3 separate regions of the Homo sapiens genome follow, and all the other regions are linked to region 3. Evidence: promoter capture Hi-C in human tissues and cell types (Jung and others, 2019). All regions are on one chromosome and are shown on one strand. Each heading gives the region's core, a stretch centred on a gene start or on the middle of the fragment in contact. The rest is flanking DNA. Distances are from core to core; before and after follow the strand shown.

Evidence for each region. Contacts are between HindIII fragments. The study calls those that stand out against the background at their distance.
Region 1: a contact is called between a fragment that was not itself captured here and the fragment with the promoter of DHRS2 in region 3, in 2 of the 25 tissues and cell types used here (mesenchymal stem cells and ovary).
Region 2: a fragment that was not itself captured here is called in contact with the fragment with the promoter of DHRS2 in region 3 in 1 of the 25 tissues and cell types used here (lymphoblastoid cells).

What each region holds. Positions count from the first base shown.
Region 1 is chr14:23,810,826-23,813,920 of GRCh38, forward strand. No RefSeq gene overlaps it. Among named protein-coding and RNA genes, the nearest start is that of LINC00596, 91 kb to the right of the region's middle. The HindIII fragment of the contact is 9,196 bases long and covers 1-3,095 here.
Region 2 is chr14:23,778,155-23,781,621 of GRCh38, forward strand. No RefSeq gene overlaps it. Among named protein-coding and RNA genes, the nearest start is that of LINC00596, 120 kb to the right of the region's middle. The HindIII fragment of the contact is 4,786 bases long and covers 1-3,467 here.
Region 3 is chr14:23,634,311-23,637,850 of GRCh38, forward strand. DHRS2 (dehydrogenase/reductase 2) reads left to right here and starts at 2,054. Exons shown (of 9, transcript NM_005794.4): 1 at 2,054-2,462. The HindIII fragment of the contact is 10,677 bases long and covers 1-3,540 here.

The DNA of each region.
Region 1 (3,095 bases), core at 363-2,862, 180 kb after region 3:
AGTTAATGGGTGCAGCACACCAATATGGCACATGTATACATATGTAACAAACCTGCATGTTGTGCACATGTACCCTAAAACTTAAAGTATAATAATAAAAAAAAGATTAAGCATTGTGGATGTCATTAAGAATATGTGTGATCTTAGGAGGAAGTCAAAATATCAACATTAACAGGAGTTGGGAAGACATTGATTCCCAGCCCTCATGGATGACTTTGAAGGGTTAAAGACTTCAGTGAAGGAAAGCAAGTAATAGCTGATGTGGTGGAAAAAGCAAGAGAACTAGAATTAGAAGTGAAGTCTGAAGATGTGTCTGAATTGTTGCAATCTCCTGATAAAACTTGAACAAATGAGGAGTTGCTTTCTATGAATGAGCAAAGAAAGCAGTTTCTTGAGATGGAATCTACTCCTAGTGAAGATGCTGTGAACATTGCTGAAATGACAACAAAGGAATTAGAATATTACATAAGCTTAGCTGATTAAGCAACAGTAGGGTTTGAGAGTATTGACTCCAATTTTAAAAGAAGTTCTATTGTGAGTAAAATGCTATCAAACAGCATCACATGCTACAGAGGAATCTTTTGTGAAAGGAAGAGTCAATCAATGCAACAAACTTCACTGTTGTCTTAGTGGAAGAAATTGCCACAGCTACCCTAACATTTAGCAACTACCACCCTGATCAGTCAGCTGCCATCAACATTAAGGCAAGACCCTGTACCAGCAAAAAGAGTGTGACTTGATGAATGCTCAGCTGATTGTTAGCATTTTTTAGCAGTGAAGTATTTTTAAATTCAGGTATGTACATTGTTTCTTAGACATGGTGGTACCGCCCACTTACAATACAGTAGAGTGTAAACATAACTTCTGTATGCACTGAGGAACCAAAAAAATTCCCGTGACTTGCTTTATTGTAATATTTGCTTTATTGTAGTGGTCTGGAACTGAACCTACAGTATCTCTGAGGTATGCCTGTACACATACTGGGACTTTGGTTCACTGTTATTTGGTTCCATCATGCTTGCCAGAGCAATGTTTCTCTTTTCTTTTTTCTTTTCTTTTCTCTCTCTTTTTGAGGCAGGGTCTTGCTCTGTTGTCCAGGCTGGAGTGCAGTGGTGCAACTACAGCTTACTGCAGCTTACTTCAACTTCCCAGGCTCTAGCCAACCTCACACCTCAGCCTCTTGAGTAGCTGGGACTACAGGCATATGCCATCATGCCTGTCTATTTTTTTTTTTTTTTGAGATGGAGTCTCACTCTGTCACCTGCACTGGAGTGCAGTGGTGCCATCTTAGCTCACTGCAACCTCTGCCTCCAGGGTTCAAGCAATTTTCTGCCTCAGCGTCCTGAGTAGCTGGGACTACAGGCACCGCCACCGTGCCTGGCTAGGTTTTTTTTTGTTTTTTTTGTTTGTTTGTTTTGTTTTGTTTTGTTTTGTTTTTGTATTTTTAGTAGAGATGGGGTTTCACCACCTTGGCCAGGCTGGTCTTGAACTCCTGACCTCGTGATCCACCTGCCTCGGCCTCCCAAAGTGCTGGGATTACAGATGTGAGCCATCATGCCCGGCACCTGGCTAATTTTTTACTTTTATTTTTTGTAGAGATAGGGTCTCACTGTCCTGCTAGGGCTAGTCTGAAACTCCTGGCCTCAAGTGATCCTCCCACCTTGGCCTCCCAAAGTGCTGGGATTACAGGTGTGAGCCATCATGTCCAGCCAAAAGTAATGTTTCTAGTCTTTTGAAGATTTCCTTTCCATTTTGGACAATTTTGCTCTAAAGAAGTTTTATTCCTAAAGAGTCATTTGGGAGATATTATTTAGGAGTCAACTAAGAAAAGAGCAGTTTATTTCAGGAATACAGAGTATGCACAAATTTGGCAGGTTATAAATATATAGGTTCATACTTTTCTGTGGGCATAACACTGCTTAAAAGCATTATTGGTTCATTTTATTCAGTTCAAATCACTTCAACGTTCTGGCTCTTACTCTCATATAATCCTTGAGATTGCTCTGACCCTTTCCCACAAGTTCATTCTTATATTCCTCTAAAAACAGGATACCTCAATAAAGAATCAGAGACTCTCTGGTGTGGAACTGTCTTTGGATTATCTACTTAAAACCTGTCGGAGGTTCATTCCCTCTGCAACCTTACAGCAAAGTAGACCTTCCATCCTCTCTTGAAAAGCTCTCGTGACATGGGAAATTCCTATTACCCATGGCTATATTTCCTCTTTGGGGATTTGAAAACATCTTTTTTTTATTTTTTATTTTTTTATTATACTTTAAGTTCTAGGGTACATGTGCACAATGTGCAGGTTTGTTACATATGTATACATGTGCCATGTTGGTGTGCTGCACCCATTAACTCATCATTTAACATCAGGTATATCTCCTAATGCTATCCCTCCCCGCTCCCCCTACCCCACAACAGGCCCCATGAGTTCATGTCCTTTGTAGGGACATGGATGAAGCTGGAAACCATCATTCTCAGCAAACTATCACAAGGAAAATATCTTTTTAATAGGAGCAGAAACCTTTCTCCATATACAGCTTCTTCCCATTGGTATTAGATGCATCCCTTGTACTTACATCATTGAGCATTATTATTATTATTATTATTATTATTATTATTATTATTATTGAGAGAGAGTCTCTGTCACCCAGGTTGGAGTGCAGTGGTGTGATCTTGCCTCCCGGGTTCAAGTAATTCTCCTGCCGCAGCCTCCTGAGTAGCTGGGATTACAGGTGCGTGCCACCACACCCAGATAATTTTTGTATTTTTAGTAGAGACAGGGTTTCACCATGTTGGTCAGGCTGGTCTCCAACTCCTGACCTCATGATCCGCCCGCCTCGGCCTCCCAAAGTGCTGGGATTACAGGCATGACCCACCGTGCCCAGCCAACATTGAGCATTATTGAGCAAGTCAATTTTCTCTTCTCTATGACAGCCCTTCAAACCATGAAACAGGTTATGTTATCTTCACCTATCCCAGTTTTGCCTGGCCTTCTCTCTGCTAAGCATTCCCAGTTCCCTCTCAATCACTTTTGGTCATCAGACAAGAAACATCTCCCAGAGTCATTTTATTTATTTTCTCAATTTCTG
Region 2 (3,467 bases), core at 242-2,741, 140 kb after region 3:
TATTTGGTTGGTGCAAAAGAAATTGCAATTTTGCCATTAGTTGCACTAACCTAATATCAACTGTTAACATCCTGCTACTTTTACTTCATCTCATACACTTTTGTTTTCTGTGCTATTTGAATGTCAGTTGCAGACATCCATTGCACTTTACCCCTAACCACATCAACATGCATTTTCTAAGAATTAAGGCATTTTGACACAGTTTCACACTTGAGACAATTAACAATTGTATAATACCACAGAAAATGGTGCTTGTCAGACTTTATTAAGCATGCAAGTCACCTGAGGATCTTGTCAAAATGCAGATTCTGATTCAGTAGGTCTGTGATGAGGGCTGATGTTCTACCTTTCTAACAAGCTCCAAGGTTATGGTGATGCTGTTGGTCTGCGGACCACACTTTGAATTGCAAGAATCTGCTAAACATTCCAAATGCAGTTTTCTCAAATGAGCACTCAAATGGCTTTTGGTAGCTGTTATTTTTCAATTCAGGATCCAGTCAAGTTTGACACATCACAGTTGATTGCTGTGCATCACCAGTCTTCAGAAATCTAAAATGGTCATTCGTTTTTTTATTCTTTTAAAATTTTTTCTTATTTTTTTAAATAAACATTTTAAGACATATGCTGTTGTTGTTGTTGTTGCCCAGGCTAGAGTGCACTCACTACAGCCTCAAACTCCTGAGCTCAAATGATCCTTTCCCCTCAACCCCTTAGTAGCTAGTTCTCCCTGACTCATTTTTAATTTTTTTTTTTTTTTTTTTTTTTGTAGAAATGGGTTCTTGCTATGTTGCCCAGGCTGGTCTCAAACTCCTGAGCTCAAGCAATTCTCCCATCTCTGCCTCTCAAATTACTGGGATTACAGGCATGAGCCATCGCATCCAGCCTTTTTTTTTTTTTTTTTTTTTTTAAGAGGACAGGCCAGGTTTTAGCAGAATGACCCCTAGTTTTTATTTCTTTGATGGTTTATTAATAATTACATTCAGGTTAAATTGTTTGTCAAGAACATGACACAGTTGATGTTATGCACTGGCTACTGCAACACAGCAGGACACAAGCATGCCAGATGTTGCTCTATTGTTTTGTATTTTTTACTTTAAAAAACTATCAGATTAGATTTACATTTACAGAAAAGTTGCAGAGTGAGTACGGTGAATTTTCATATACCTCACCCTGAGTTTCACCTATTGTTAACACCTTACACTAGTATGGTAACTTTGTCACAATTGATCAACCAACACTGATACATTGTTATTAACTGAAGCCCATACTTTGGCTAATCAGATTTTCTTAGCTTTAATCTAATGTCTTTTTCTGCTCCAGAATTCCATCCACGATACCACATTATATCTCCTTAGACTCCTCCTGGCTGTGACAGTTTCTCAGACTTTCCTTGGTTTTGATGACATTGATATTTTCCAGAAGAACTTGTCGGGTATTTTGTCAAATGTCCTCAGTTGTGATTTGTTTGATGTTTTCTCACAATTAGATAATTTTCATTTGTGTATGTCACTTAAGGTTTTTTACTGGCCAATTTCTTCTCTTTTTTCTTTCTTTGTTCTAACTCTGGTTTTATTTTATTAGAGCCTCATTGCATGTAGTTTGTCCATATCAGCATGTATAATCTGTAATTCTTTCAAATCTGCAAGTAGCTTTCTTTATATTATGAAATGGTTTAAACATAAAGTACAGAAAGTGACATAACGAACAGCCAGGTACCACATCCCAGCTTAAAAAATTAAACATTACATATAGAATTGATTCCCTCTATTCTACCTTTCCAGCTTCTCCCCTTTCTTTCTCTAAAGATGAAACCCTTAACCTAAATTTGGTAGAGGTTATTCCTATGCCAGTCTTCATACCTTGTTACATATATGTATCCCTTAACTATATATAGTATTTTCCATATATTTAAACTTTATGTATGATAGCACATTGAACATATTCTTGGGCAACTTGCTATCTTTGTTCAACATTATGTGAGGTTTATTCTGTAGATACATGTAGTTCTGATCCATTTATTTTAATTTCAGTAAACATAAAAGAGAAAAAAGAGAGATGATTAAAAAACATTATGTATTAATGCCCATTTGTGAACTTAGTATTTCTATGTGGTATGCTTGGGTTTAATCTTAATTATTTTATTCACTGTGTATTTATTGAGGACCCACTATCAGCCAGATAGTGTGCAAGGCACTAGAGACACAATGATGAGCAAAACAGACTAAGTCGTCTGCTCTCAAGAAGCTTACAGTCTGGTTGTAAAGTAAGGGTCAGACATGAGTCAAGTGCTCACACTCATTTATTAATTACAAACTGTGATGATTGAGGTCTCCTCCAGTTAGGGAAGCAGACCTAAGAGTCTGGGGAGACTGGAGCAGCTAGAATTTGCAGGACAGAGGACTGGAGAGGAAGGAGCTGCAGGGAGATGTTCACAGGTTTACAGAAGGTTCCTCTCGAGTAGTCAGAAGAGTACTGATCAGCACACATATGTGAGGAAACCAACCAAGGCCAAGGAAAGAACCATAAGAAAGGTGGCAGGGTGCTCCCACAGGGCCAGGAATAGTGCCTCTTCCCACAAGCCAGACTGAAAAACCTCATAATTCATAAAGCACTGGGCTTAGTGCTCAGAGTAGTCTTCCCTTAGGAGTGGAGAATAATTATCTCTAGAATGAGCCCTGCTCTGAACCCATTTAATAGACTTTAGGCAAGGATCAAACTGTTCCCTAGTAACTTAACTGCACCCCAGAACAGAAATAAAAAATATTAATAGGAATACTAAAATATCCAGCATCTAACAAGATACAATTCACAACTTCTGGCTTCCAATTAAAAAATGTAAGGCATACAAAGGAGCAGGAAAATACAATCATAATAAGGATAAAAATAAATCAAGCAAAATGAACACAGAACTGAGATGTTTGAATTAGCAGAAAAGAACATTAAAACAGGTGTTACAGCTGTATTGCATATGCTCAAAAGTTATGTAGAGACATGAAAGATTTTTTTTTAAATCCAAATTGAGGTACTAGAAATGAAAACTGCAGTGCATAAGATAAAAAATACACTGAATGGGATTCACAACAGGTTAAACACTGCAGTAGAAAGAAAATAGTTAATTTGAAGATGTAGCAATAGAAATTATGCAAACGGAACACACACAAAAAAATTTAAGAAATGGACAAACCATCAGTGAGCTGTGGGACAACTTCAAGTAACACAATCTACATTTTATTGGAGTCCCCAGAGAATAGGAGGTAGGAGGAGAAACAGGAAAAAAAAATTCAAAGAAATCATGGCTTAGAAATTTCCAAATTTGATTAAAAAAACTATAAAGCCACATAACCAAGAAGCTCAATGAATCCCAAACACAAGAAACAAGAAGAAAACTATACCAAGGCATATTATAGTCAAATTTCTCAGCACCAATGATTAAGAGATCATCTTAAAAGAGGTTAAGAAAAAAGGAC
Region 3 (3,540 bases), core at 804-3,303:
CCCTGCCTTGGCCTCCAAAGTGCTGGGATTACAGGCATGAGCCACCGTGCCTAGCCTGTTTGCACCTTCTTAATCATAACTGCCTCCCCACAGCTCTACTGCGGAAATACCCACTCTCCTCACTTTTGTGGTGATCACTGCCCTGCATTTCTCTGTATTTTTGTCACCTGTTTGCCTTCTTAAGCAATATAGAATTGTTTTACCTGTTGTTGAAACTTGTGGACTCAAATAATATGTATTCTTTTGTGTCTGACTTCTTTTACTCAACAGTATATTTTTTAAGATTCCTTTATGTTGTTCAGTGTGGCTTCAGCTCATTCATTTTCATTATTGTATAGTATTCCATTATAGAAATGCAACACAGTTTGTTTATCCATTCCACCGTTAATAGGCATATAGACTTTGATATGGTTTAGGTCTGTGTCCCTGCCCAAATCTCATGTCGAATTGTAATCCCCAATGTTGGAGGAGGGGGCCTAGTGGAAGGTGATTGGATCATGGGGGCAGATTTCCCCCTTGCTGCTCTTGTGATAGTGAGTGAGTTCTCATGAGATCTGGTTGTTTGGAAGTGTGTAGCACCTCCCCCTTTGCTCTCACTTCCTCCTGCTCCAGCTGTGTAAGTTCTGCCTGCTTCATTTCACCTTCTGCCTTAATTGTAAGTTTCCTGAGGCCTTCCCAGCCATGCTTCCTGTACAGCCTGTGGAATTGTGAGTCAATTAAACCTCTTTTCTTTATAAATTACCCAGTCTCAGGTAGTTCTTTTTTTTTTTGAGACAGGGTCTTGCTCTCTCTCCCAGGCTGGAGTACGGTGGTGCAATCTCAGCCTACCACAGCCTTGACCTCCTGGGCTCAAGCAATCGTCCCATCTTAGTCTCCCGAGTAGCTGTGACTACAGGCATGCACCACCACACCCAGCTAATTTTTATAGAGACATGGTTTCACCTTGTTGCCCAGGCTGGTCTCAAACTCCTGAGCTCAAGGGATCTGCCCACCTTGGCCTTCCAAAGTACTGGGATTACAGGTGTGAGCTACCGTGCCTGGCCTCAGTTAGTTCTTTATAGCAGTGTGAAAACAAACTAATACAGACTTGTTTCCAGTTTGGAACATTCTAAGCAGGCTTCTCTGAACCTGTGTGTACAGTCTCTTGGTGCACACATGACCTCCTGTCTGCAGGATGCAAGTTCCCTCTACAGAGTCAGAGATCTTTATTTTCAACTTCTCCGTATAATGCCAAATCATTTCCCAAAGTGATTGTACTTACCCTCTACCCAGCAGTGAATGAGAGTTTCTGTTGATTTTGCTTTTTCAACTAGAAGTGAGAGGTGACAATATGCTAGCAGCCCTTGCTCACTCTTGGTGCCTCCTCGTCCTCCACATCCACTCTGGCTGCACTTGAGGAGCCCTTCAGCCCACCACTGCACTGTGGGGGCCCCTCTCTGGGGCTGGCCAAGGCCGAAGCCAGCTCCCTCTGCTCGCCAGGAGGTGTGGAGGGAGAGGCGCCGGCAGGAGCCCACACTGTACAGGGCACTCACCGGCCAGCAGGGGCTCCGTGGGCCGGCCGGTGCCAGCTGGGCCTGACTGGGGGATGAGCTCCCTCTGGGCTGCTGGAGTGCCTGGGCTAGGTGCCGCAAAGTCCTGCAGTGTGTGCCATTGAGAGGTGAAGCCGGCTGGGCTTCTGGGTCCGGTGGGGACCTGGAGAACTTTTCTGTCTAGCTAAAGGTTTGTAAATGCACCCATCAGCACTCTGTGTCTAGCTAAAGGTTTGTAAATGCACCAATCAGCAATCTGTGTCTAGCCAATCTGGTGGGGACTTGGAGAACTTTTGTGTCTAGCTAAAGGATTGTAAATGCACCAATCAGCACTCTGTGTCTAGCTAAAGGTTTGTAAATGCACCAATCAGCACTCTGTCAAAACGGACCAATCAGCTCTCTGTAAAACAGACCAATCAGCTCTCTGTAAAATGGACCAATCAGCTCTCCATAAAATGGACCAATCAGCAGGATGTGGGTGTGGCCAGTTAAGGGAATAAAAGCAGGCTGCCTGAGCCGGCAGCAGCAACCTGCTCTGGTTCCCTTCCACGCTGTGGAAGCTTTGTTCTTTTGGTCTTCATGATAAATCTTGCTGCTGCTCACTCGTTGGGTCCGTGCCACCTTTAAGAGCTGTAACACTCACCGCGAAGGTCTGCAACTTCACTCCTGGGGCCAGCAAGACCACGAATGCACCGAGAGGAATGAACAACTCTGGACACACCATCTTTAAGAACCGTAATACTCACCGCAAGGGTCTGCAACTTCATTCTTGAAGTCAGTGAGGCCAAGAACCCATCAATTCCGTACACATTTTGGTGACTTTGAAGAGACTGTCACCTATCACCAAGTGGTGAGACTATTGCCAAGCAGTGAGACTATTGCCAAGTGGTGAGACCATCACCAAGCGGTGAGACTATCACCTATCGCCAAGTGGTGAGTACCATCAGATCCCTTTCATTTGCTATTCTGTCCTATTTTTCCTTAGAATTCGGTGGCTAAATTCTGGGCACCTGTCGGCCAGTTAAAAGTGACTAGCGCAGCCGCTGGACTAAAAACGTGGGTGTCAGGCTTTCTGGGAAAGGGATCTCTAACAACCCCTGGCTCTGTGGAGTTGGGAATGTTGTTTTGCCTGGAACCAGCTTCCGCTTTTCCTGTACTTCTGGGCTGAGCTGAGGGTCAACAGAGAGGAAAGCCATTCAGCTCCGGAGTCCCCACAACAAGTTGGTTGACCCTGCGGCCATGAGCGGAACTCTCAAAGGCATGTTGCCCAAGTGAGACTCACCTATCTATCCTATCTATCCTGACCCTTGCTCGCTGGGTCCTAATGCCTGCCAGACAAACTTTCTCTCTCCTCTCTTCTCCTAGGCTAGTCCCACTTCTAAAAAACCACTCCCTGTCTCTGGTGCTTTTCTAATTTCTCTTATAAGAATGATTTCTAGTAAAAATTTCAGGACTCTGTTACCTTCTTTAGGCACCTGGGCTCACCAATCAGAAAGACATAATTTTTGCCCAAAGCCCAGTTGTAGGGGGAACTATCTGGAATTTTAGAATCCCTCCTCAGATAAGCAGGTCTAACAAAAGCTATTCCTGAAGCTAGGATAGGGGGAGCCTCAGAAATTGTATCCTTCCTATTCATATAAGTGAGGACAAAAGGTGTCACTTTTCCAACCCTGGAGACCCCTTCCCTCCCTCAGGTTACTCTTCTTCATTTTTGGGGCATAACATCTTTATAGGACACGGGTAAGTTCCCAATACTAACAGGAGAATGCTTAGGACTCTAACAGGTTTTCGAGAATGCGTCGGTAAGGGCCACTAAATCCGATTTTTCTCGGTCCTCCTCATGGTCTAGGAGGACAAGCAAGGGTGCAGCACTCTATGTCTAGCTAATCAGGTGGGGACTTGGAGAACTTTTGTGTCTAGCGAAAGGATTGTAAATGCACCAATCAGCACTCTGTGTCTAGCTAAAGGTTTGTAAACACAGCAATCAGCACTCTGTCAAAATGGACCAATC